Linked DNA regions of Homo sapiens: all the other regions are linked to region 1. Evidence: promoter capture Hi-C in 16 types of primary human blood cells and fetal thymus (Javierre and others, 2016). All regions are on one chromosome and are shown on one strand. Each heading gives the region's core, a stretch centred on a gene start or on the middle of the fragment in contact. The rest is flanking DNA. Distances are from core to core; before and after follow the strand shown.

The links. Contacts are between HindIII fragments. The CHiCAGO score rates a contact against its expected background, and 5 or more counts as called.
Region 2: a fragment that was not itself captured here is called in contact with the fragment with the promoter of FIP1L1 in region 1 in 1 of 17 cell types (neutrophils); the score reaches 6.3 in neutrophils.
Region 3: the fragment with the promoter of SRP72 here is called in contact with the fragment with the promoter of FIP1L1 in region 1 in 2 of 17 cell types (non-activated CD4 T cells and neutrophils); the score reaches 9.7 in non-activated CD4 T cells.
Region 4: a contact is called between a fragment that was not itself captured here and the fragment with the promoter of FIP1L1 in region 1, in 1 of 17 cell types (naive CD8 T cells). The highest score is 5.7, in naive CD8 T cells.

Annotation. Positions count from the first base shown.
Region 1 is chr4:53,373,180-53,380,254 of GRCh38, reverse strand. FIP1L1 (factor interacting with PAPOLA and CPSF1) reads right to left here and starts at 2,614. Exons shown (of 18, transcript NM_030917.4): 1 at 2,332-2,614; 2 at 1,138-1,182; 3 at 991-1,030. The coding sequence starts at 2,416. LOC105377654 (a long non-coding RNA gene) reads left to right here and starts at 2,515. Exons shown (of 3, transcript XR_007058118.1): 1 at 2,515-2,596; 2 at 4,525-4,658; 3 at 5,658-6,086. RefSeq lists a silencer at 2,037-2,126 and enhancers at 1,799-2,347, 2,287-2,406, 2,457-2,546, 2,348-2,896. The HindIII fragment of the contact is 4,469 bases long and covers 1,281-5,749 here.
Region 2 is chr4:56,481,312-56,488,386 of GRCh38, reverse strand. SRP72 (signal recognition particle 72) reads right to left here. Exons shown (of 19, transcript NM_006947.4): 9 at 5,117-5,248; 10 at 3,523-3,651; 11 at 1,990-2,062; 12 at 374-438. Among named protein-coding and RNA genes, the nearest start is that of SRP72, 17 kb to the right of the region's middle. The HindIII fragment of the contact is 3,798 bases long and covers 1,347-5,144 here.
Region 3 is chr4:56,463,793-56,470,867 of GRCh38, reverse strand. SRP72 (signal recognition particle 72) reads right to left here and starts at 3,251. Exons shown (of 19, transcript NM_006947.4): 1 at 3,124-3,251; 2 at 1,095-1,215. The coding sequence starts at 3,232. It overlaps LOC124900706 (a long non-coding RNA gene), which reads left to right and starts at 3,310. Exons shown (of 2, transcript XR_007058126.1): 1 at 3,310-3,776. It overlaps PAICS (phosphoribosylaminoimidazole carboxylase and phosphoribosylaminoimidazolesuccinocarboxamide synthase), which reads right to left. Exons shown (of 9, transcript NM_001079524.2): 9 at 6,290-7,075. RefSeq lists an enhancer at 3,197-3,406. The HindIII fragment of the contact is 5,513 bases long and covers 1,629-7,075 here.
Region 4 is chr4:56,388,547-56,395,621 of GRCh38, reverse strand. It overlaps PPAT (phosphoribosyl pyrophosphate amidotransferase), which reads left to right. Exons shown (of 11, transcript NM_002703.5): 11 at 74-2,260. The coding sequence ends at 270. Among named protein-coding and RNA genes, the nearest start is that of AASDH, 4.6 kb to the right of the region's middle. The HindIII fragment of the contact is 6,954 bases long and covers 1-6,011 here.

The DNA.
Region 1 (7,075 bases), core at 1,365-3,864:
TCCATTCATCAGTTGATGCAGCTGCGAGGTTTTCTTTTTCCACTTTCTATTAAGAATAATGCTGCTATGAATATTCACGTACAAGTTTTTGTCTGAATATGTTTTCATTCCTCTAAGGTGGAGGACTCACATGGTAACTCCATGTTTCACCATTTGAGAAAATGGCCAGGCTGTTCTTCAAAGCAGCTGCACCATTTTACAATCCCACCAGAAGTGTATGAGGGTTTTATTTCCCCATATCCTCACTAACACCTGTTTTATCTTTTCGATTGCAGCTTACTCGGTATGAAGTTGTATATCTTCCACTTTTTAAACCCAAATATTCCTTAAAATCTTCTAACTACCTCTCCCTCCATTACAGACACTAATGCATGTGGTCAGGGTAAAGCCGACATCTCCATGTACTTCTTTACATGGCTTGCTTTTTGAAATCTGGGGTAAAATTCTGACTCCCTGTATATGTTCTATAAATGAACACTTACATCTTTCTTACAATCTAACAAAGAAATCAACCTTATAACAAATCAGCTAATTACATTTTGAATGCAAACAATACATAGCATTGAAATTACAACCAAACTGCCATTATATCATCAAAAATGTTAATAAACTGGAAAAGCAGTAGTTTGGAGTGTTCCTGATTTACTTAAAAACATTTTCAATTAAGTTAAAATATTTTTATCAGTAGCTTAACGATTATACTGTATACTTCACTACTGAATTCACTTAAGAGTAACAAGTTACTTAACAGTGTAAAATCAGTCCAATCCTAAGTTCAAAAACTTTGTCCTTTAAACTACCAACAAATAGAATTGGCGTAAGATTAGGTCCTGAAACTGGAATAATCCTTAAAGGATTCAATGTCCTCCAAAATGTTGTAAGTCAGTGTTGTAATGAAGCCAATGATTGTAAGAAAATAATTTTGACAACTGACAGAACCATTGTTTCACACAACCTGTGTAATAGGCATCAACAGAAAATTTCACTAACCTGGCATTTTCTTCTTCTGGCCTTTCAACTTCATTTTCATCTACCAAGTAAAATAAACAAATAAATAAATAAGCAAACAAAATAAAGAAACCACTCTTAAAGAAACTAGTATTATGAAAATCTGAAGTGATCATCACAAGCACTAACCTAGGTCCTTTGCCAAATCACTGTGCACATGCACGTCCCATGGGCCTATAAGCACATCCAAAGTTAGATCACCTTATAATTACTTAACAAGATACTTATTTTATGGAAAAAAAAATCAGACTTTACTGCTATAAAAATAAGCTTAAATTTAAGAGGTAATGAAGATTTCCAGATCTTTGTAAAAGAAATCCTACACATTCACATTTCAAAGAGTAGTAACTAATGCTAAATCTTGCCACCAAACGATTTTTTTTTACAAGTTTATCAAAGTCACATCATCAAGGACCTGCATGGTGCCCAAAGTGCACTTTTACTATTCTATTCTAAAGACAATCAAGAATATATGTTTTAGGCAAGGAACAAACATTAACTTTCAAATCTGGTGTTAACAAGCAAGAAGGGATTGTGACTTAAAGTTAAAAACCAGATGTCAAACAAGTACCCTTCTAGAGAGAAGTACATGATGCATTAAATTTATTTTGAGAAAAACAAATACATGAGATGACACTGAAAACTATAAGCCGAAGGGTCATGAGATACCTCCATGATGTAGGTTAAACGGTAGTCTCTTAAAAAAGAATAACTTCACCTTAATACAGGAGACATTCAGAGTTTTCTTTATGGGCCATCTTTCTCTCTCTCTCTCTTAATTAATTATTTTTAAAGCACGACTTTCAGACAAGGAGGTACCCTTGCAGGTGCATTCCATACAAACTGACCATCAAGAAACAAGACGTTAGTTGTACAGCATTAACTTTATTTAGCTATTATTACAGAATGACTGTTTCTGAAAGAAGGGACAGGAAGGGCACCCTAAGGCCACAGGGCAAAAACAGACACCAAAAACCACCACCTCAGAATCGACAGAAAAAAACAAGGGTAAAGAGCGCAGCAGCTAGGCGATCGAGACGCCTCGGGGAAAGCACAGCGAAGCCGGGGGCCAGGACCGGTCACAGCCCCCCAGCCCGGCCCGGCCGCCACAGGGGTGGATGCGCATGGTGGGCGTGGGCCAGGCGGGAGACCGCCGCGGGGACTGGGGGCACGCGCACGCCGCGCTCGGCCTAAGTCAGGCCGGACAGGACTCCCAACCAGAGGCCCGAAGCGGCGGCGCGAGAGGCCAGGGACGCCGGCCGTTTGAGGGCCAAGAGGGGAGGCCTGAGAGAACCCGAGAGACAGAGACAGGAAGTTTCGTACCGCCATAGAGCCACTCTTCCTCCTCATCCCCTCCGGTCCCGCCGCTCAGCTCCGACACTAGGCGCTCGACCTCGCCGGCCGACATGGCCGCCCCGAGCGCAACTTAAACGCGGCGATCAACAGCCCCCTCCAACCCCTTCCCCAGCCTCGCAGCCCCGAGGCGCGAGAAGGGCGCGAACCCGCCGACGAACGAACGAAGAAAGCTCGAGACTCCAATCCCAGGAAGGCGACGGCAGCGGCGGCAAAGATGAAGCCTCCAGCGCAGGTCCGTCTGCGCATGCGCAGGAGACCCAAGCGGCGCGGCGCGTATAGGTGGCTTCGCTTCCGCGGCGGCCACCTGGGCCTGGTTGCGCCTGCGCGCTGAGGTGGGCCCCGCCCCTCTAGGATCCCGGTTTGCTATTTTGCGTGGCTTCCTCCCGTGGCGTCCTGAGTCGGCCAGGGTTCCCCGCCCCCACCCTTCTTTTTAATAACCCGTATTGCCATTGCTGGCGAGTACACCATTGTTCCCTTCTACTCTTCGTGCTCTTTCTTCTCAACTTTTTATTTGTTTTTTAATCTTCAGAAAGGCCTTCTTTTATTCTTTAATCAGCCTTGATACAGAATCATTACCTGTCACTCCCTTTCCTCACTGAATAGAGAAGAAATCACAATCAGTACTATTTCTCAAAAAATTAATTTTCACAGCCAACAAAAGCAAAACTAATAGATGAAGAATGCACTCTCCTTGTTAAAAACCATAAATTACTGTCAAGGTCAAAGACCGCCTCATTCCCCTACCCTTCTCTCCGGAGGTAGCCCTTGCTACAGATGCATATCCTGTTTGGAGTTCATCATTCCGAAATTTCCTATACACTTACTTCATGTGTTGTGCTGTTTTGGTGGGAGAACCTGAGATTGACAAGTCTTAAATAGTACAGTACAGTATAGTATCATCCTTCGACTTCCTTTTTTTTCTTTTTTTTTAGCATCCGTGTCTTGGAGCTCTTTTTCATTTTAGTATGAATCAAACTATATCTATTTTAAGTGCTTCATAAAATTGCATAGTATGGCTATCACAGAGTGAATATGGCTATTTCTCCATTGATGTACACCCAGATTGCTTTTGACTTTACACTTTTAACTACAACAAAAAATGACAATGAAGATCCACACGGCTCCTTGCAGATTTGTCTGTTTCTCAAAGATAGATCATAAAGTATGTACAGTTTTTATTTTAATAGGTAAACCAAATGTTCAGGCCGCTTCTGAAAGCACATCTTCCAGTGAAAAGATGACATACCATGGTTCAAACTGGAGCTCTAGGTTTGTCTAGGTTTTTTGTTTGTTTGTTTATTTATTTGAGGCGGAGTCTCACTCTGTTGCCCAGCTGGAGTACAGTGGTGCGATCTCTGCTCACTGCAACCTCCACCTCCTGGGCTCAAGCGATTCTTCTGCCTCAGCCTCCCAAGTAGCTGGGATTACAGGCACGCACCACCATGCCCAGCCAATTTTTGTATTTATAGTAGAGAGGGGGTTTCACCATTTTGGCCAGGCTGGTTTTGAACTCCTGACCTCAGGTGATCTGCCCACCTTGGTGTCCCAAAGTGCTGGGCTTACAGGCATGAGCCACCACGCCCGGCCTGTTTTTTTGTTTTGTTTTGTTTTGTTTTGTTTTGTTTTGTTTTGTTTAAAAAACAGTCTTACTCTGTAACCCAGGCTGAAATGCAGTGGCAGGGTCACTGTTCACTGCAGTCTCTACCTCCCAGACTCAAACAGTCCTCCCACTTCAGCCTCCTGAGTACCTGGGACTACAGACAAGCAGGTGCCACCACACCTGGCTAATTTTTTATTTTTTGTAGAGACAATGTCTCACCATGTTGCCTAGGCTGGTCTGGAACTCGTGGTCTCTAGCAATCCTTCCACCTAGGCCTCCTAAAGTGCTGGGATTACATGTATGAGCCACCAGGCCTGGCCTCAGTTCTTCATTATACCTAGCAGGTTGTATAGTCAGGCAATCAACCTTTCTATGCTTCAGTTTTCTCATCTATAAAATGGAAAGGCCAAGTTAGATGATCTCTGAGGTCTCTTTCATTTATAAAGTTTACAAACAGGGCATTCGCTTGTCAACAGAGAGAAATCCATTTTGATTGAACAACTAAATGAGTTTTCTTGCTCCTTGATGAATAAATATTGTTTTATCATTTATTTATTTAGCAATTACAGAATATCTGCTCTGTTTAAGAACTTGGAAAATGAAGACATGAGTGAAACAGTCCCACCCCTTAAAGAACTCTGAAGTTATTGAGAAAGACAGAGGGGCAGTAAACAACTCTCCTACAAGAGAAGAGGTGAATGTGTTGTAATAGAAGCACAAATGAAGGGTTTACGCCCAACCAATATCTCACATTATTTAAACAAACCATGTGGTTTTAATCTTTCTTACCTTTGAACACACTTCTGCCAGCTATTCCCAGCTCCCTTATCTTTTTATGATAATCTCTTGCATCCTTCTAAACTCTCTGGGGGTATAATCACCTTTGTGAAATCTTTCCTGAATCCCATTTTATCTCTTCCCATTTGTTTTGCCAGGAACTCTTCCAGCTATGTAGATTCAACAGTGAATAAAACAAAGTTCTTTCTTTTGTGGAGCTTTGATTCTAATAAGAGAGTCAGATAATAAACATATGAACGTATGATATGTCATGATGACAAGAATTGTGAAAAGAGTAAGCAATATAAAATGAAGTGATGGGGTGCAATTTTATATGGAGTGGTCAGGGAAAGCTACTCTGATGAAGTGATACAAGAGACTTGAATGGAGACAGGAGGTGAGCCCCGTGGATTTCGGGGTGACAGACTATCAAACAGAGGAATAAGAAGTGCAAAGGCCCTGAGGTAGAAGCATACTTGGCATGTTCAAGAAACTCAAAATGTAGCTAAAGTATAGTGAGTGAGAGAGAATGCAGATGAGGTCAGATGTATTTGGGGGGTGAGTGGGACAGAGCAACTCACTCCTTCTAGACACCATGCTGCTTCTATGCCATGTGCCTATCACACTGTATAGTAATTATTTGACTATATTTCTGTTTGCCTCAGGCTCTTCGCTAGACCAAGTCCACCTCCAAACAGGGCATCCCATAGCCATCACTTCAATTCCTAGTATAGTGCTTAACGCTGAGTAAATCTTCTTGGTCACTGTTGAAAGTAATAGAATGAAGTCTTATAGACTGTTTATGAGTATCGTAAGGCAATCACTCACAGTCCTGTCTATTGATCGTTCTATTTATTTAATTGGTTTCATGAGAAAACCAATTGCCTTTTGTTAAGGGATCTTTTTCTGTTTTCAGCTGCCTTTCAAGGCATTGCTTAAACATAACTGAAGAAATGATGAACAATACTAGAATAGCTTTTGTGGTGGAGGTAGCATTTGAGCTAAGCTTTGAAAATGAAGATTTCCACAAGCAAAGAAGCACATAAATCACTAATAACTACTCTGAAAAGACCTCTTCCTCCTTGCTTCTAAGCTGAGTTTCTTGCCTGAATATGCTTTCTTAGTTAAAGGTATCTTTCTCTCCCTGCTCACCAGGGGAGACATCAAAGGTAGGTAGTTTGAAGATATTATATATTCCTCCTTCCATTTCTTATATTATGACCTTATCAAACTACAGTGCTCCATATATTCTATTTGTTTTCCATTTTATTGTTGTTTTGTGGTCTGTTGGTTTCTGGCAAAAAAAATTAAAAGATAAGTTTTAATATACTTATCTCTGAGAAGTACTGAGAGTGTTTAGTAGATGATGATGAGTTAAATGATGACAAGAATTGGAGATCAAATAAAAATGCCTTGCTCACTATCCAGTATATATAGCAAGTACACATAAATGTGTTTGGCATGCATATGATGTTTATGCCCAACTGTGCTCTTTGCTGTCACATAAATTTCAATGTTCTTAAATTCTCAATGTTCTTAAGTTTCCTCAGCAGTAAATTGATACATTAAAATGACATTTGTACCAATATTGGGGAAGAATAACAAAGCTAAATTGAGGTTTCAAATGTCAAAGCATCTAGCCAGGCACGGTGGCTCACGCCTGTAATCCCAGCACTTTGGGAGGCCGAGGCAGGCGGATCACCTGAGGTCAGGAGTTCAAGACCAGCCTGCTCAACATAGTGAAACATTGTTTCTACTAAAAACACAAAAATTAGCTGGGCATTGTGGCACGCACCTGTGATTCCAACTACTCAGGAGGCTGAGGCAGAAGAATCGCTTGAACCCAGGAGGAGGAGGTTGCAGTGAGCCAAGATCCCATCATTGCACTCCAGCCTGGGCGACAGAGCAAGACTCCGTCTCAAAAAAAAAAAAAAGTCAAAGCATTTGACAAGTTATTGACAAGCAGGTAACATGTTGTTTAGGACTTTTCTTCTTTGAACAAGCAAAGTAATTGTACGTGTGTAGAGCTTTCCTTCCTCTTTATGTACTTCCATGATAAATTAAACCCCAATTAGCCATCTTCCTCTACATCCTGACATCTTTTAACAATAAACTTTACCTAGTCCTAAGTTTAGCTCATCAAAAAAGAAAAAATAAATTTTCTATTGCTAGTTGTTTCTGGAAAATTGTATTATTTCCTATTCATGTCTGTGCTGTCAGTAAACTTCGCATACTCTTTTTAAAGGTGAGAACAAAATCGTTTTATTTCTGTATTTGCCAGGTCCTCTCTTACAACATCAAGTACATGGAAAGTTCTTAAGCTAAGAACTGATC
Region 2 (7,075 bases), core at 1,996-4,495, 3.1 Mb before region 1:
TGCAATATTTGAATAATCAGAAAACTAAAAACTAAATTTGTTGGCCACAATTATGAAATTGTTCTAATTTAAAGAAATCACACTGACGAAAATGATATAGGCTAAGAAATTCCTATACAGATCTGAGATTATTTGAGGTTGGTTTTCAGTGATACTATAAGGCCTAAATAGTGCCTGGCACATTTGACTGAATAAGAAACCAATACCAGAGCAGAGAATGAAATTAAATTTATACCAGACAACTATTACTATTATAATTACTACTCCTACCTTAAAGTGAATACACATTCGACATATAAATAAAGTGAATACACATTAGACATACAAATTATCAATTCAACTACTTTTCAATTTTGTAATTTTTAAAACTCACCATGCCTGGTTTATGCTTTAACTCCTCTATGCTTCTCAATATTAGACATGCTTTAGAAATATTACCTTAGGAGAATAAACAAAATCAGCATTACATAGAAGAACACATATTATGAAAAAAAAATACAAGAAATTTTACTTCCTCCCACTACTTTTCCTTAGGAAAGCAACCATAACTCATGTTTTGTAACATCGCTAAACATATAAACTTTGGGGTCTTGGGGATGGTGAACTCTGTTCATTTAGAGATAAGGAAATTGAGTTCTAAAGAAATAATATACCTTGCTTAAGCTCACAAAGAAAGTTAATGGCAGAGCTGCTACCAGAAAAGAAGTCTCCCAGCTCCCAGTCTGTTGAGTTCTATTTCTTCTTTTTTGGGCTGTAACTTGAAGGTGGGGGTCCTTCCCTAAAGGCCTTGAAATATGTTACTGTAGACATGAGTGCAATGGAAAATTTCCTATGGTGTTAAATTCTGATTTTGTATTCACTGCAAACCTCAATAACTCAAAATTCCCAGTCTTTAAAAACAAACAAAAAACCATGACAGATTGTCAGTAATTTCAAGATAATAAATAATCCTTGAAAAAATAAACTAAACATAGGAGGAAAGATCAAGTAAAGGGCAAGGAAGAGAAGACAGGGCTGAGGAGAAGGAAAAAGAGACAAGGAAAGCAAAGAAATGTGAGAATTGGATAAGAGGGAGATCAGCAGTGTGTCTCAACCTTATTTTCATTATTGCCCTACTAAGGACATTTTAAACATTTTTTCCCTAACTGCCAACTCCCCTCCTTCAACTCATAAAATTTTCATTTCAGCCACTGTAATATTTAAGATTTTTGTGAAGAATTGTCACCACCATTGAAAATCCACATTCTATACCAGAGCTGTTCGACAGAACTTTTTGTGATGATATAAATGTCCTATATCTGTGCTGTCCAATATTGTAGCCAATGGCTGCATATAGCTACTAAGCTTCTAAGATGTGGCTAGCATAATCAAAGAACTGAATTTAAAATTTCATTTAACTAATTTAAACTTAAAATAGCTGTATGTGGCTAGTGACTACCAAACTGGGCAACATGGCTCTAGATATTCAAAGTTAGATGAAAACCACAGACAAAAACATTGGCAGTTTTAAGATTCAAACACATCAGTTCTCGTTAAATTCTATTACCTTTCCCCAAGCCCAAAGACATAGGTGGCAAAGTGTAAAATGAAGTAAGGATGAAGGGCCAAGCTAAGAAATTCTGAAAACTATGATGCAAAGTAGTCGTACAAATATTACCAAGTGACGGACATAAGCATTTCTGCATGTGACATACTCAGGCAATTTGAGTAGTATGTATGGTCTTTTGGAAGAGAGGAATCCTTTGCTTCAGAACTTTCAAGGCATAGATTAAGAATCATTCTAATAATTTAGGAATAATCCACGAAAAGGGGCAACTACCTCACTACTAAATCTGTTGGAGATCATACAATCTAGCTGCATGTTTGAAACAGTAATTATTATGCTTTACTATTACACAAAAAAACTTAAAATCACATAGTTCACAACTGCTTAATCATTCCAAACATGTTTTCATTAAAATATTTTAATCATGATGAAAACCATAATACCTTGAGAAATTTTCAACTGTGCCATGGTCAGCTTAATTTCAGCTGCATTTTCTGGATGCTGATCTGAAAATTCCTAAATTTTTTTAGTTTGGGGGAAAAAAATCACATTTAATTTACACAACTAATTGTATACATTACAATTACTTAGCTACATAAGATTTTAAATCCAGTTTTAAAACATTAAACTTCTGGCTGCAGGTCAAAATCTTAACTTGGGGAAATTTTTATTCAACACTCACTTTTTTTCTTAAAGGTATGCTCTAAAAGTAAGTGCAATGAAGTCAAGTTTTCTGTAAGTCACTAACAGAGAAATCCATCATCCCTCAGCCACAGGGTATTACTTCCAGAACCACCCCCGATTCCAAAACCCAAGGATGCTCAAGTCCCTTATATAAAAGTATAGTATTTGCGTATAACCTACATACATGCTCCTATACATTTTAAATCATTGCTAGGTTACTTATAATACCTAATACAATGTAAATCCTATGTGTATAGTTGTTATATTATCTAGGGAGTAATGATTTTTAAAGTTTGTATATGTTCAGTACAGAGGCAGTCATACATTTCCAACCTCAAAATGTGCTTTTTTTTTCTGAGGCGGAGTCTTGCTCTGTCACCCAGGCTGGAGTGCAGTGGCGTGATCTCGGCTCACTGCAACTCCGCCTGCCAGGTTCAAGTGATTCTCCTGCCTCAGCCTCCCACGTAGTTGGAATTACAGGAATGCGCCACCATGCCAGGCTAATTTTTTGTATTTTTAGTAGAGATGGGGTTTCAACATGTTGGCCAGGCTGGTCTTGAACTCCTGACCTCAGATGATCTGCCTGATTGGGCCTCCCAAAGTGCTGGGATTACAGACGTCAGCCACTACGCCTGGCGACCCCCACAAAATGTTTTTAATCCATGGCTGGTTGAATTCTTGGATGCAAAACTCAAGAATACAAAGGGTCAACTATAATAAAGATTACTAAATAGATTTTTTTTTTTTTTTTTTTTTGCTGTGGGGAGAGAAGGGGCGGTGTCTCTTCACTGAGTGTCCCTGTTAGGCAATTTTGTCTGTCAGGATGATCCTAATTGTACCTGTCCAACTTTCCAATGTAGTTTATATTCAAGAAATTTAAATATGCAATATAATAGCTGGTTTGGGTTGATAAAAACAAAGTCAGTATCTCCATAATTGAGGTTCTGGAGTAGAACTCACTGGAGATCAGATTATTGCAAAAGAGGTTAAGTATGTTCTGGAATTATACATGCCTAAATGATCCCCTAACTCAGGTTAAACAGATCTCCAAACAAAACAGCATTCTTCAGCATTTATAACAAATATTTACATTATAGAAATTTATATAACACAAAGAAATTTATATAAAGCTCTGTAACCCAAGAGTTAACTAAAATGACAATGAAATTTGTGTAGTGGTACATTTCTGATTAGTTTTCCCATTAAATTTACATGCTAGTAGGTTATTACAACACAATGAAAATGAAACAAAGCTGCAAATGTCTGACACCTCATTCAAGTAATTATTTTACCTGAAGCAGCTCTATTGCTTTTGTGTGCTGCTTTTCACGGCAGAGCTGGGCAGCTTGGATTAACACAGGTAAGAGATGCTCGGGACTTTGGGACTGTAAACTGGCAGATATTTTGCGGCATTGTTCAGCCTAGAAGATATCCAACCCCCACAAGAAAAATAAACTGGTTAATGAAATTAAACACTAAATGACCAGAAAGAAAAGAAACATGGGAAAATCAGTTGAAACAAATATTAACCAAAGAACTGCCTAGGGTAAGAGAATCAGTTTACAGTATCTATTCTCAATTTTTTCTTGTAAGAAAATGGTTTCCATTTATTGAATTTAATCTATGAGCTCTAAGAGTCTTTAGTAAAGGAGAAATTCTAAACATTCACTTGGATGCCTAAATTCTAGAACTGTTTAAAAAAATCAAACACATCAAATATAAGCATTTGCTTCAAAAACAACAAAATGCATATATGTATTTTTTGCTACATTATTAAGAATAACTTGACTCAGTTCTAAATAATAAAAACATTACTGTCTCTCGGCCGGGCGTGGTGGCTCATGCCTGTAATCCCAGGACTTTGAGAGGCTGAGGTGGGCAGATCACGAGGTCAGGAGATCAAGACCATCCTGGCTAACATGGTGAAACCCCGTCTCTACTAAAAATACAAGTAAATTAGCCAGGCGTGGTGCTGGGCGCCTGTAGTCCCAGCTACTCGGGAGGGTGAGGCAGGAGAATAGCGTGAACCCAGGAGGCAGAGGTTGCAGCGAGCCGAGATGGCACCACTGCACTCCAGCCTGGGCGACAGAGCGAGACTCCATCTCAAAAAAAAAAAAAAAAAAAAAAAAATTACTGCTTCTCTGTCTCCCACTAAAACTTCTGCTCTAAAACAGTATAAAATTAGAATTAGAATGCTTACTGGAGTTAGAATTGACTTCCTTAACATTTATAACTTGATGTGATTATACACAGCAAAAATGAAAGATGGGTCTTAAATCTATAATCATGGCTAGCATCTTTGATGATTTTATCTTAATTCAGATTAGAAATAAGGTAATGAGAAAGTTATCTCATTTAAAGGTGTGAATACTGTTTTCTTCCCCTTAAAAGGTGTCAACCCTACACCCTTATAAGAAATTGGGCAAATTACTTGTTTAATAAATAAAATCTATGACACATAATATTCTTTCTTTTTTTTTTTTCTTTTTGGAGACAGTCTCTCTCTGTTGCCCAGGCTGGAGTGAAGTGGCACAATCTCAGCTCACTGCAAACAATTCTTGTGCCTCAGTCTCCAGAGTAGCTGGGACTACAGGCATACACCACCATGTAGAGACAGGGTTTCACCATGTTGCTCAGGCTGGTCTCGAACTCTTGAACTCAGGCATTCCGCCCACTTCAACCTCCCAAAGTGCTAGGATTACAGGCATGAGCCATTGTGCCCAGCCAATAATATATATAATATTTTGAGGAAGGCAAAAAAATATATTTATGAGTTGAAGACAAAATACAAACAAAAACTATAAAAAGATTAGACTAATATCCCTATTACTCCTCATATACCATATTACAAAAGGTTTAGCCATGACACCAAAGGTAATTACCCACCTGGTTTGTGTACATAGCAAGTAAAGCTTTGTTAAATTCTATAGCTTGTAGTTGTTTCTTGGAAAGCTTAAACTCTACTCCTTCCGCATTGGTTAATTTCACTTTCTTCTTGGAGTCAAAGACATTTTGGTCCTAACAAAGAAAAGTTTATCTATCATTAACAGAATCTCAGATTTCAACTTATTCCTTTTTCTATTAACTTTATATAGATACAGCAGGAGAGCTTGAATCTATCTACCTGATTGGGGTGCCTAAGCTAATAAGATGCATATAAATTTATCCTGATTCACAGAAGTAATTCAAATCTACTCTTTTTGAATCTCTGCAATTCAAATCTACTCATGTACATATAGTTATCCCAGAATCTACCCCCACTCCTTTTAAAGCCTTCTCAAAGGAGGCTTCCTAGGTATAAAAAGGCTTAACAAGTGAACTGCTTTAAAGAAATGGAGAACAAGATTTGTTTTATTTTTCCACTATTAATTGCTTGTTTTGAGCTTTTTGAAGGAAAAAAAGGGACAGCACAAATTGAAGTGTATTAGGACTACAAAAATACCTAACTTGGCAATTTCTACAAGCTATGCCCTCTAGAATTTAGATGATAAATAAAAAGTAACTCACTCCTCTTCAAAATACAGAAATATCTTGGAGATATTTCGTGTTTGGTTCCAGACTACCGCAATAAAGCAAATATTACAATAGAAGGAGTCACAGATTTTTTGGTTTCCCAGTGCATATAAAAGCTATGTTTACACTATATTGTTGTCTATTAAGTGTGCAACAGCATTATGTCTGAAAACAAGTACATACCTTTTTTTTTTTTGAGATGGAGTCTCGCTCTGTCACCCAGGCTGGAGAGCAGTGGCACAGTCTCAGCTCACTACCAGCTCCGCCTCACGGGTTCACGCCATTCTCCTGCCTCAGTCTCCCGAGTAGCTGGGACTACAGGTGCCCGCCACCATGCCTGGCTAATTTTTTTTTTTTTGTATTTTTAGTAGAGATGGGGTTTCACCGTGTTAGCCAGGATGGTCTCGATCTTCTGACCTCGTGATTCGCCCACCTAGGCCTCCCAAAGTCCTGGGATTACAGGCGTGAGCCACTGTGCCCGGCCCAGTACATACCTTTATTTAAAAATACTTCAATGCTAAAAAATACTGATACAGAGATATGAAATGGACACATGCTGTTAAAAAAATGATACCACCATGGCCAGGCACAGTGGCTCACGCCTGTAATCCCAGCACTTTGGAAGGCAGAGGTGGGTGGATCACCTGAGGCCAGGAGTTCGGGACCAGCCTGGCCAACATGGTGAAACCCCCATCTCTACTAAAAATACAAAAATTAGCTGGGTGTGGTGGCACACGCTAGTCCCAGCTACTCAGAAGGCTGAGGCAGGAGCACTGCTTGAACCTGGGAGGTTGCAGTGAGCTGAGATCCCACCACTGCACTCCAGCCTGGGCAAGAGAGCGAGACTCCATCTTAAAAAAAAAAAAAAAAAAAAAGGAGCCAACAGATATGCTCAACACAGAGTTGCCACAAACCTTCAATATGTGAAAAACTTACAAAGTGTAATAAAGTAAAGCACAATAAAATGAGGTATGCCTGTAGTGACTCTGTAAGGCAATCATGAAACCTCAGAAACATATCTGTACCACTTTTGAACCCATTTTTTTTTTAGCAGAAAATACTCATGTAACATATCTACTGTTTTTCCTTTCCTAAAGCCCCTTCTTCTTAGCCAAGCAAAAGCATAAAGAAGCTCAATTTCTAAAATTCCCATGTGGGGGCACAGTGTTATCTGCCCAAAGAAAGTCCTATTAAGAATTATTGAAAGTCACATACATCTCCAAAAAAAGGGAGAAAACTAAGTCACACTGATTGCATCCTGAGAAGCACAAACTGAGCATGTGAGTATCTACTTTGTGCACAATACTCTAGCTTTGTAAAACAATGTATTTA
Region 3 (7,075 bases), core at 2,002-4,501, 3.1 Mb before region 1:
CGACAGAGCAAGACTCCTCCCAAAAAAAAAAAAAAAAAACTTTTATCCAAGACTCATTGACAAAATGTTTTTGAAAATGTCTCTTTTCTCACAAAATAGCCCAAAATCAAGAGACTGAATTTTAGCAAACATATTTAATAGGAGAAAAGCAGCATTGCCTCTATTTCCCTTTTATTTTTAATAAAGTTTACAATTAATTTTTAATCTCTAACACATTTATACGCCTCAAATATAAAAAGAAAAAGAGATACACTAAGAGGCTTTATTCCCACTGCTACCCAAATCTAACCTGTTCCTATTACCTCCTACAAATGACTTTTTTTTTTTTTTGAGACGGAGTCTCCCCGTCACCCAGGCTGGAGTGCAATGGCACGATCTCAGCTCACTGCAGCCTCTGCCTCCTGGGTTCAAGTGATTCTCCTGCCTCAGCCTCCCAAGTAACTGGGAATACAGGTGCACACCACCATACCCAGCTAATTTTTTGTATCTTCAGTAGACATGGGGTTTCACCATATTGCTCGGTCTGGTCTCAAACCCCTGACCTCGTGATCCGCCCTCTTAGGCCTCCCACAAATGACTATTCATTGTTTCTCTTTATACTGTTTGTTTTGCAAATACAGGCAAATGCATATATAAATTTTTATATCCTCCTCCTCTTGTAAAAGGAAGTATAATATATATTGTTCTGCACCTTATAAACCAGTATCCCATTAATATGCTTCAAACTTAATTTCAATACATATTTTTTTGGAGCCTAGGTATAACAGTAAAGAAACTTCGACTGAGTTATTCTTGCTACATCCTCCAACGACTCATAATTATGCCCCACAACTCTCTATGGTTCACCTCCTTAGCGGTTCAAAGGAAACACAGTGGTTAAAAAAAAAAAAAAAAACTCTCTAAGGCTGAAAAAAACAGAAGTTACTAGTATTCCTTCCAGTTCAGAAACATTATTGACAAGCAAAAGGGGGGAAAAAAAGGAAGGAAAAAAACGTTAAAAAAAATCAGCAAATAGTTGGGAAAAAACATGGAAGAGATTATAGCTATAGTAAGTGTTTCTAATAACTGTACAAGCAACTAACTGAATCACTTACTTGGCTAACACTTTGGTGTGAGTATTGATGACATTCAAAGCTTCCTTGAAACTTCCATTCTGGATAAGGCATACCACTTTACAATGCAGGGCAGTTACGTCATCTTTGTTGATCTGTAGTACTAGAGAACAATTTTAGGAAAAGTCATTTTTAAATCCATTTCCTTTTCACATTTTTACTAAATTTTCCCACCCTGTCTCTCCGAAAGCTAAATTTCTACTTTTATTGCAACAGAAATAATTGGTCAGAACAACTGGAAGAAACAGCAACAAAACAAAACAAACCCAGAAAACAACTAATCTTTGCTTTTAACTTAAGAAGTGACAATAAGGAGAGTTATAGATTAAATTTTCAATGAGATAAAGATTCCCAATATACATGTACCAAAAAAGTGCAGTGAAATAAAGAAGAAAGAAGCAATTTCTCCAGATATTTCATCTTGAAATGCATGCTACATTCTACATAGTTCATTACTTCACAGGGAAAAAGTTCAGGTAGAATTTGGAAGCAAATGACCTAGGTTTGGTGCAAGCTTGCCACTAAATGCTTTGAGGTATTGGGCATATCACTTAACAGCCAAATCTCAGTTTTCTTAGCTACAAAATGATTAGAAAAGCATTACCTATTTAATAAGGTTACTGACAATATGAAATGAATATTTTGGAAAAATCTTATAAAGTATAATACAAAGGCAATTTATCTTGCTGGCAACGTTTCCAAAAATCATTAAAATTTCCCCTTTTCAACTAAGATGACCAAAGTATAAGGAAGAACTCAGGTGGCAAGTTTCAACGCTAACAACTGTTCGGTGTTAAAATGACCAGGATCATAGTTACTCTTGCTCCTGTGCAACTACAGAAGTCCAATTCTCAAAGAATCACAAGAATTTCTACCAATTAAGAAAACATACTGGTAAACAAGTTGACAATCTTTGCTGATTAAAGAATTCCTGCAAAATACTATACTAAGTATACAGTACTGGTTGGAAGGCTAGAGTTAATTCAAACAAATTTAGGGATCAAATAATTCTAATTCGTAGCTATTTTCCTCAATGTCTGAAATCACCAAAAGTGCACTGTGGGCACAATCACTACTTTTCACGTTAACCCAGTACTAGAGTGTTGAAAATTACTTAGATAGCTTTGCATGTTACTGACACACCTTTTAGGTTACTGCTACTCTGAACAGCTAAGCCCTGCCTTGGTAATTACATTTCCAAATCTAACATGCACAGGCTGTATCTTCAGTAGAGAAGAACTGCGCACCACCGAGAACATTAAGCAGCATGGCCATATTCCAGGTATGTAGTAAGGAACAAAAGAATATGATGAATTAAACCTCACACCAAAGGCGGTAAAAACCGAAATCATCCCTTACAGGGCAAAAAAACAGGCCAAACTTTTCTTCCGACATTATTTCAAGTGTTGGTGCTTCCACACACATATTTCCTAACTTAATAACACTGAAGAGATCTCATCTATGGGAATGACAGGCCTGACATCCAGATCCAGCCCTTTCCTCTCGCCCCGTAGAACCCGTACAGCTTCCACCTGGTTAGCACCAGCCTCTAAACTACGTGTCCCAAGCAGGTTCCTCCCCCTTTAGCGGCCAAAGAGAACAAGCTCCCTCAGCAATAGAGTCCTGATCACTGCGCTCAAGACGAAGAAGAAAAGGAGGCACTTTGGAATATTTGTGAAATAAAGCAGCAAAGGAGTCAAATAAGAAAACAGTTTGAAATGGACTCCGGGAGCTGCGGTCTCTTTAAAACCTTCCCTCGCTTCCCGCGGAGGGTAAAAAGAGAAGTACACGTGGCTGTAAGCAACCAGGGACCCCAGGCTGGCCTGGTGAAGCCGAGGAGTGAGACCTGCGTCTTCCGGGCGCTAGGGCCCGAGCCGGGCGGACAATAGACGGGGGGGTTTCGGGGGTCTCCCCTTCCCGTGCCTCCCGCGCGAGGTGGTCTCGCGCGCCGGAAACAGGCCGCATCCTCCAGCCGGCCTGGGCCCGCCCCAGTGCCCACCCCGACACTTACTCTTATTGACGGTCTTGAGAGCGCGCGTGAAGTCGCCGTTCTGGCCATACCGGTTCACTTCACTCCACAGCGCAGGTACTGACACCCCCCCGCTGCCGCCGCTCGCCATCTTGGAGGAGACGAGGGGCGGGGCGGGGAGACCTCTGCCCCGGAACAGGATCTCCGAGGCAGCCAAGAGGAGGAGGAAGTCGATGATTGCTAAGCGTCGCCGAGTTGGGAGTGTCTTCAGCCCTAAGGCAGCATCAGAGATCATAATCTTCTGCTCTCGTGGCAAGAAATTTGTGCGGATAGAGTTGATACACCTCACTTGAAGTTGGCCTGGAGAAAAGAGGCGTCGGACTCCTGGACGGGGTTGGGAAACGGTCACCAGTTTCGGCTCAAAGCAGCCTGTTTCCAGGAGACCGCCATGGTCGAGGCAGCGTCCTGGTCCCACGGTGCGGGGCCGGACGATCATTTATGGGATATAAATAAAAGGACTATGAGGTGGTAAATAAAAGACTACCAACTAGAAGCCATAGGGAGTCATTTGAAGGAGAAATAGGCACGGCTCATCTGTGGTTGAGGGAAAGGGATCTTGAAAGATGATTAGGAGAACTTGGGTTCTGGGGAAAGTGCGGGAAGACATTCTGGCAGAGAAGCAAACGTGAGGAAAGGTAAGAAGGCAAGAATCTCCCATTACAAAGGGTTTGGTGAAACCCTTTGCCTGTCCTTTTCGCTCCCTTCGGGAGCAGTCGGCAATAAGCTGGAAGGGTAATGGGGTGAAAATGCCCGTGGTCAGTTCCCTGGCTCTGCGACTCACTAGATGTCTGACAATAAACAAGTTACTTAGCTTCTGGGAGTCTGTTTTCCCGATTGTGAAATGGGGATACTATATTTGTTCTAGAGATATAAAATATTAGGGTTTGCTTGCGACCGTTAATATCAAGATGTGTTCAGATGTACGAAGGGAATGGATATCTGTTGGGTACACTTGATGTGAGTGATTTTTTTTTTTTTTTGAGACGGGGATCTTGCCGTGTTGCCCAAGCTGGTCTGGAACTCCTGGGCTCAAGCAATCCTCCCACCACAGCCTCCCCAAGTGCTGGGATTACAGGCATGAGCCACCACACCAAGACGATGTGAGTGATTCACTTGATGTGAATGTTGTATTTCATTGAATGGCCTGCTCTTCAGACTCATATCTCGTCATGACCTTTACAACTTCTACTACTTCCTGTGTCCCTCAGGAACCTAGCTTTTTTTTTTTTTTTTTTTTTTTTTTTTTGAGACGTAGTCTAGCTCTGTGACCCAGGATGAACCTCACTGCAATCTCCACCTCCTGGGTTAAAGCGATTCTTTTGCCTCAGCCTCCCAAGTAGCATGAGCCACCACGCCCGGTTAATTTTTGAATTTTTAGTAGAGATGGGGTTTCACTGTGTTGGCCAAGCTGGTCTCAAACTCCTGACCTCAAGTGATCCGCCCTCTCTCAGCCTCCCAAAGTACAGGGATTACAGGCGTAAGCCACCGTGCCCGGCCTTGCTAACTACTTTTTGTCTTTCAGTCTTTCTGGTTATACGTTGAAAGTTACTTTGAGGAAACATTTGATCTTGCAGACTGGGCAGCCTTCTGGTTGCATCCTCTTAGAACAGGGGTCCCCAACCCTTGTACTGGTCTGCAGCCTGTTAGGAACCGGGCGGCACAGCAGTAGGTGATCGGTGGGCCAGTGAGCAGTACCGCCTGAGCTCCTGTCAGATCAGCTGTGATATTAGCTTCTCACAGCTCAAACCCTATTGTGAACTGGGAATGTGAAGGATCTAGGTTGCTCACTCCTTAAGAGAATCTAATGGGAAATGTAATGAGCTTGAATCATACTGAAACCAGCTGTCCAACTCCTGTGGAAAGATTGTCTTCCCTGAAACCGGTCCCTGGTGCCAAAAAGGTTGGGAGACTCCCTATAGGACTCCACTTCTGAGCACTGATAATTAAGGGTTATCTCACTCTGTATGGACTATAGTTCTGAGGCCAAGGAACCATATTTACCTTGCTCACTGCAGTATCCCTAGGATCTAGCATACTGCCTGGCACATAGTTGGCATTTTTTGTTTCACATTCCTTGCCTAATCTTGAGTTCCTTGAGGGCAGAAACTGCCCAGCTCCTGATATGGCATATGGTGCCCTGCCATATTTTTGTCTGGTCCTTCCAGTATATACAATGCAAAGAGCATGAAAGGTGGCTTGAACTCTAGGTGCTGGAGGGTGTAATTCTTGTGAATTAGTAAAAATCATGAGAAGAGCTTTAGACTTTTACTGACTAGAATTGTCACAGGTTTCAAGCCAGTTATGTTTAGATTTCAGGGGGTGGGGGCTCCAGATGACATGGTATACCCAAAATGTTGTGTGAGAAAATTGGGTATACCCAAAATTTTGTTGTATTTTGTTATTCTGAGAAAATGTAGATTCCACTGTATTCTCCAAAGGTGTTTATATCCACCATCCCCTCCCAAAAGTTAAGAGCCACTGTCCTAGTAGTACTTTTTAGAACATTGACTTTATATAAGAATTGGCAATTTTCGTTTCTATATCATTCTAATCCTATATACTTTGTAGCTTTTAGAAATGCTCAGAATTCTGCTGCTGTGGACTTGTTTCTATTTCTTATGTCATTTTAATGGAGTTTTGTGGCAAACAGCCTATAAATATGGGGCTTAACCTGCCATTTTTGAAACAGGAATCTTCCAAACCATAGTGGTGTTTTGTTTTTTTTTTTTTAAATAACAAATTTACATCTCACATTGTGAAGGATGGAAAGATTGTCTGGTGAGGGGCCACTCTGATTCATAGATGGCATCTTCTGTTTTCACATGGTGGGAAAAAAACCAGACTGATCTCTTAAAGCATGTATCTGATGCCACTTTCCTACCCTCACGATAAAATCCGAACTCCAAAGAAGAGCAGTAAGAGCTTTTGTGATCTGGCCTCTGCTTGCCACCTCCCCAACTCACATAGGTCTCTATACTTATTTCCTAGCCCCCTTGCATGCTATTCACCTCTAACTTCCATGTAGTTATGTGTCCCCCTACCTCCTGGAATTTGCATTTTTATTCATCTGACAAGTGTTTGTCTTGTATATGCCAGTGCCGTGTATTACACCAGTTGCTGTGATACAGCTGACAACAAAGAAGACAGCCCAGTGTAATACATTTATTTTCTAGTTGGGAGAGATGGGTAATAAATAAACATGTACTATGTTTGGTGGTAATAAGTTTGCTGAAGAAAATTATGGAAAGGTAAGAGAGATTGAGTATAGACTGTGGAGAATTAGTCTTTTTCATTCACAGTATACAATTGTTTTCTAGAGATCAGAGTCCTTCCTACTTTTGTGTATTCACAATACCCTATTGTTAATTCCATATTAAGACTATATACGGTGTTTTGAAATTGTCTGCCTCTGGAGACTTCCAAGATTCATTGAGAGCAGAAGGTTAATTTTGTTCATCTTTGCATTCCCAGGGTCTTATATATACATAATAGGCTGTATTTGTTCTCTAAAAAATACAGAACCAATAGGATATGTACAGATTATGAGAAATTGGCTCTGCAAAATGGAGGTGAAGTCCCACAGTCTGCCTTCTGCAGGCTGAAGGCCCAGGAAAGCCAGTGTAGTTCCAAACCCGAGGGCTTGAGAATCAGGGGAGGCAATAACGTTAAGTCCTAGTCTGAAGGCCTGAGGACCAGGAGCACCAACATCTGGGGGCACGAAATGGATGTCCCAGCAGTTCACCCTTCTTCCCCTTTTTTGTTCTATTCAGGCCCTCAATGGATTAGATGACGCTCACCCACATGGGTGAAGGCAGTCTTCTTTACTCAAGTCTACTGATTCAAGTGCTAGTCTCTTCCAGAAACACCATCACAGATGTACCTAGAAATGTTGTTTGACCAGCTATCAAGGCATCCCGTAGCCTAGTCAAGTTGA
Region 4 (7,075 bases), core at 1,285-3,784, 3.0 Mb before region 1:
TATTCTCTGTTGACGCGTTTCTTCCTTTCTAAAGGAATTCTTATTACATTTTTATTTTTCCCTCTTTCTTTAGGAGCAAACAGTGTTGTGTATCTGTCAGTAGAAGGACTGGTTTCATCTGTACAAGAAGGGATAAAGTTTAAAAAACAGAAAGAGAAAAAGCACGATATTATGATCCAAGAAAATGGAAATGGTCTGGAATGTTTTGAAAAGAGTGGTCATTGTACAGCTTGTCTCACTGGAAAATATCCTGTAGAATTAGAATGGTAGCTGGTAGGGTTGGATGTGTGTAGTTTCAAGATAGAAAGTTGGTCAAGAAGTTATAGTGGTCACACCTCATCTATTTACTGTTACTCAGTTGGTACAATGTAAAATGCCATGCTTATGTTTATAAGTTTTGAGATTTTTTTTTTTTCTGAAAAGGATACCAAAGTGCGATAACTGAACATTTCCAATTGCATATAATACAACAATATGTGGTGTTCTTTTTTTTACACAAGCATTGGCTAGCCTTTTTAACCTGGTCAGAGAAGGCAGGTGGTCACTGACATTTCCCAAGTCCATGCTTTAAAGGGTTTGCAAGAAGTTAGGGTTAAGGAGAGGTGATGCCAACAAGACAGGTGAGTTAAATATACCATTTCACACAAAGTTTGAATAGAATACATTATACCTCATAGGTGTCTAGCCTCTACAGTTCTGGCTGTAGTTATGACCTTGGCTTCCCTGTCTAACTGTAGACAAATCTTTAAAAAAAAATAATAATAATCTGGTGCCTCAGTTTCCCCACATGTGCAATGGGATACTTATTAAATAATTAATAAGAATGTGAATAAGTGTCATACTTTTGTGATTTGAGCCATCATTTCACTTCTGATTTTAAGACAACTCATGATTGTTAGCTTTCAGAAAGCTAATGATTGTTAACTTTTTGAAATTAGTTTACAATTAATTAAGATTTCATTATGATGGAAGGAGACATAATTGGCAGATCTTTGCCATCTCTCTTTGAGATGTCCTAAAAAGGGTTGTAAAAATCTGTGAAAAAGTTTTTCCTACATTTGACTAGAAAATGTGATCCATAGTATTTAGTGCCCTGATACTATAAGCTCAGCAAGTAACCTGGTACATTTGAAATAAAAACCAAATTTTTAGATTCAAACAATCCCTTTATCCTTAATTTAATTAATTATCATATGCTTTTTTTAATGAAGTGCTTGATCACTTGCAAACATATATACATGTAGATGTACATATACATGTACACATACACATAAATATTATTGCAATTAAGTGATCAAGTACAGACACAATAGGGGCCAGTTTTGTTTAAGGATCAAAGAGACAACCACTTTGGGGAATTAGTATCAACTTACAATCCAAGTCCAAGTATCATCTTATAATCACTTTTTTCTACTATATTAAGATCTAATGAATTTGATTTCTTTTTTGAAGTTTTTTCTTGTAACATCTGAGATTAGAAGTTTAAGATGACTTGACCCCAAACCTTTGTTTATGTAAGAATTTTTAAACATAAAAGTGTTTGTTTCTGTTATGTTACCATAATTTGATGTATATAGTGTCCAGATCCATTTAGAAATTTAATATTTATTAATAACTGAAACTGTTTGTCTTCCTTTGGTATATAGTCTCGCATATTATATTATAGCAGGCCAAGATAAAATTTTGACAGCTCTTTAAGCCCACATGCAGCAGTGGGTCAGATAACCCTGTGGCAGTGACACGGGCAAATTGGCATTTGAATAAAGCCCTGGGACCACCTCAACATGCGTAGCCTCTTGTCTTAAATGTACTCCCCATGGCAGCATGGAGGAGGCAAGACCTGTGGGTCAATTTTGAACTGGCCTTACTTTGATTTTTAAAACAAGAGACTCAGGGAAAGTACTAAACCAAAATCTCTGATTTTACTTTGCGTTTTCTGTAGTTTTTGTTTTACTGAGATGCTTTTGTAAAGGAAAATAATACTGTGACAGTTTAGTAATTCTACAGATTCTTAATATTTCTCCATCATGGCCTTTTACTTCACAATTTTCTGAAGTCTGAATTCAATTACAATTTTTTTTTACCAATTTAATCTCAAATGTTGTTTAACTGCTTTAAATTCATATACGTAGAGTATTATAAACTGCAGAGATGAAAAATGTGTTTTCACGGGATTTATATTGTGAACTAAACTAAGCCTACTTTTTGTGACTTATTTGTGATGCCTTGTTGATAAATATGTGTAATAAGTATGTTTAAATATGTGTGTCCTTTTTTTTTTTTTTTTAAATAGTGACTTTAGTTAGTGCTTTATGGTAAACAGCATGGAGACAACTTCCAGGCTCCATTCTTGGCACCAGCTAGTCATATCTTATTTCTCTGATCCAGGCATTTCAATAAATAGGCCATCTCTTATGAACCAGGCAAAACTGCTGGTTGACTATGAGGGACAAATTAAGTAATTAGAAAAGCAGTACTAAGTAAGCACTACATCGTGGCAAGTTCCTAGGAAGCACTATGGGGAAAGAGGGAGTGTCATGGAAGAGCAGGATTAGATTCAAAGTGTCAGGGTGGGTAGGTAAATGAATAGATAAACTGTAGTACATTCAGACAATAGAATATTATTCAGTGCTTAAAAGAAATGAGCAATCAAGCCATTAAATGACAGAAGGAACATAAATGCATATTAACTAAGTGAAAGGCACCACTCTGAAAATACCACTCTGAAAATATTGAAGGTATCCAAAGAAAAAGTCTCCCATGTTAAGGATAAACTGGTCACAGACAAGAAAGATTACTAGTAGGGCACCTGCCAGTGTTAAGAAAATTTCTGTGCAACTAGGTAAACCTTGGTCGCTGGACTGGATCTTTAATTCTTCTAGGTTCCTCCAATCCAACTTTCTTCCATAGAATTACTAAAAACGAGACTTGCTATGTTCTTAAAGCCCAAGCTCAAACTTAACTGAATTTTAAGGGAGAAATCTCATGCCCAAAGGTTCACAAAACTGCCCAATGCTATAACCAGAGACATTAAAACTGTAAACCAGAATGAAAAGCTAACATCTCCATACTGTGGGCAGCTTTTCCCAAGATGATGGAACATAACTCCCCATCCTAATGACACTCTTGCCCCTCTTAATTCTTCCTTGTTTATGCCTACCTCTTTGATTTGGCAGGATAATTTCACAATCGGTAGATATTGTGGGTGACTTGACAGAATCTGACTTCATAAATCCTTTAGTCCACCCAGGGGGTAATACTGGCAACATCCTCAGTAAACTTTTTGTTCAAATTGTACTAATGGTCTTTTTTAAAACAGAGTTAGCTCTCTCTGCTTTAATTCAAGCCAGTCATGGAATGCTAAGTAATAGGATTGCTGTGTACCAGCTAAACAAAGAGATGTCTGTGCTTTTGCTCATACTACATGCTGTACCTGGATACATTCCTTTGGGGAATTTATATACACAAAATAAGAAAATAGCCCACATGGTATAATAAGTCTCACCTAATTCTTCATGATCATTTGATTTATTCAACTGGTTGTCTTTAAGCCTAGGTTCACGGCTGAAAACTATTATGCTGAGATTGTTACTTTGTATTTTCTTTTTTTTTTTTTTAAGAACTTTATACCTGTTTCTTGTCAAATTTGCATAGAAATGCAACTCCTAAGAGAATAATGCTCTCCCAGCACTTTGAGATGATAGACAGTGCCTATGGAACAGACAGAATTGAACTTAACAGTGGACTCCAGGTAGACTTAGCCTGAGATCCACTCCCTCCAAACCTCTTTTGTTGTTCAAATGTGGCTAAAGGGTTTTGATGCTAATTCCTAGTTACCAGTGACTCCCTTCAACATGAGGGCAGACTGGCACCAAGAGATATCAAAACCTAAATACAGGATGATTGATCAGTGATGCTTTTGAGAAAGACCTTGATCAAAAGGGGAAATGTGAAAGTTGTCAGATTCAAAATGGAGTCACTCGTATTAAAACCCTGGCAAACGGAGCCAGGAAACGCCATGAAGGGGAAGGGTTCTCATGTACATATGGTTGATAACAAGAACTATCAAAAGACTACAAAAATTTACAACCTGCACAAAGGCCACCACAACCTTAAACACAACACACACACACACACACATACTTCTGCAACGACATCTGCCTAGCAACTGCCTATCTAACTTATGGACTGACACCACCCTTACCACGCTTGTTATTGTTAAAACAAACAGTGAGGTTTATTTTTATTTATTTATTTATTTTTTGAGATGGAGTCTCACTTCGTCACCAGGCTGGAGTGCAGTGGCGCAATCTCGGTTCACTGCAACCTCCACCTCCTGGGTTCAAGTGATTCTCCTGCCTCAGCCTCCAGAGTAGCTGGGACTACAGGCGTGTGTCACCATGCCAAATTAATTTTTATATTTTTCAAAGAGACGGTTTCACTGTATTGGCCAGGATGGTCTTGATTTCTTGACCTCGTGATCCACCTGCCTCGGCCTCCCAAAGTGCTGGGATTACAGGTGTGAGCCACCACCACTCCTGGCCTTCCAGTGTACTTCCATAGTTACATATTCTTTCCTCGTGCCCTGTGAAGAGGTGCCTTCCACCATGATTTTAAGTTTCCTGAGGGCTCCCCAGCCATGTGGAACCGAGTCAATTAAACCTCTTTTCTTTATAAATTACCCAGTCTCAGATATTTACTTAAAGCAATGTGAGAACAGACTAATACACCTGTCAAAACACCAAGCCTGAAAAACTCAACCACTAATTTGCTCTCTGCCTTCTCCTGAGCAGCTGAACACTTAGAGTAACTCACACAATGCCTTATTATCCCAACTGTGATATGTGGTACAACAGCACATAACAGGAGGACCTAACCTTGTTTCAGGTAGGGTCAAGGATTTTCCAAATTATTTTTGAACTTTTTAAGGAAACAATGACATTGACAACTGAGAGATAAGCCTTAAAATAAGTAGAGTGTGCCAGTCAAGGTACAAAATATCAGCAGGGTACAGGGTGGGCATTTGATATTTCCCTGCAACTGGAACAGTGTAAGTGGATGGAGCTGAGTAAAAAAAAAAATAGTTTGGGAAACAAGCGCCTAAGACATGAATCCCTGCTATAAGGGTGCTATTTAGTATAGGAGGTCAGATTTGGAAATAATGCAGCAACAGTAACAACTGATGCTGTAAGAAATATATGTCGCTGTCTGGGAAGGGTCTGGTATTGAAACCTATTTTAAAGTTAGTAAGATAGCCTGTTAACTGTTTTATGGCAGTAAACTTGGATTCCTGGGTGACAAAGAACTTTGTAATTTATGGCAAAAGCAGAAGCCAGAACTTCATGTTTATGCATTTTCCATGTCCCCCAAGTCCCACCAGGATGGTGAAGATGGGCTTCCATGGATGTCTGCACATGCAGTCAGTGGGTTACATTATAGGAGAGGAATACTGAGTTTGGGGGATTCCATACTTTTGTAGTTAAGTGGAAGCAAGCCTACTCTTTGGGAAGAATACTTCAGCTATGAAACTGATCATCCCAAACAACCCTGAAAAATGATCTAGGTAAAGAGCAGTTAGGACCTTACATTCTTGGCAAACCCAGAATTTGCAGGTCCCATGACAAATGACCCCTCCCAAGAGTATGATGGGTTCGTGGGATGGAGTTTGGAGGAGTCTGGATAAATTATTCTTTAGGGCTTGAAGAAAGGCATCACTGAGGAAGTCATGTTTAAGCTGTATTTTCATCAAGCAGGCATGGAGAAAGAAGGGTATTTCAGCCTGAGCCCAGCCAAAACAGGTGTGGAAACATGATAAGGACTTTGTATTCTCAGAACTCTTACTAGCCTTTCATTATGACTAGAGTTTACAGTATCAGGTGTGGGGAATGTGGAAGATGGGTGGGGGAGCAGTGGCCTGCTGTGAGATATCAGGTTGGAAAGAAAATGAACTCTCTTGTTTACCTTGCTGAAGAGTCTGAATGTTATGCAGGCAACGAGGGATCATTGAAGCTTCTTATTCTCATAGAAGAATGCTATGACTGATCTGGTATATGTTTTAGAATGATCACCTTGGATTATCAGGTAAAAATGCTGTCTTAAACATAGTGTTCTACATTTGCTCCCTAAGACTCCCTGAAAATGACAGTAACAGGATTTTTAAAGTCATACACCCTTAAGGATTAAAGAAAAGGAATAATGGAAATGAAATTCTGGAATCAATAGCAAAGGGCTCAGTTGACTTGAAAAACCTGAATTCTAAACCCCCAGTGAGCAAAACCAACAAGCAATTCTATTTGTATCACAGAACCCCCTAAAAAACTAAGAAACTGGCTTCAGGAAGTAGAAGTGAAGAGGGTACCTAAAAGGACTGGAAGTTCATTTAGGAGAGTGTTATATCCTTTATGCCACCCCCGGCCCCCGCCTTATTCTGAAGCCTTTTTTTATTGCTCAGGAGTAAAACGGGGTCTCTGTAATGGAGGACATCAGGCACCTAAAACAAAGAGAATTAAGTGAAAATTGTACTAAATTCTGAGACATACCGCAGCCTCCATACCCCTCCTCTCCCACTTGATTTTCAACAAACGTCCCATGGGCTCAACAGCTTCCAATCAACTTTTAAATATACCCCCACTTACATATGAGCAGATAAGGACCACCAGACATCCTAGGAAAGCCTCTAATGTGAAAGATAGAGCACAAAATCAACAGAAGAAAAAAAAAGGAAACTTGAGGGAAATAGATACTGCAAGGGAAGAAAAACTTTAAAAAAGGTATCATTAATATCAGAGAGTTGGATGATGATACTGGAATAATAAAACATCATTTTGGCAGCAATTCAGAGTCAATCAGAGGCAAACAAAACTGAAAACGTTTTAGGAAAAAGCTGACCAAGAAGACCTGAACTAAAGTAGCAGTAATGGCGATGAACATGACACTTAAAAAACGCAGGTTCTAGGCCCCTCACTAGAAAACTAGGGGATGAACCTCCGGGGATGGAGTCCAGGAATTTGGAATCTTCTAAAACATCACCACCGGCAATTCTGATGTAGCCAGCTGGGTGCTGGTCTCAAGACTG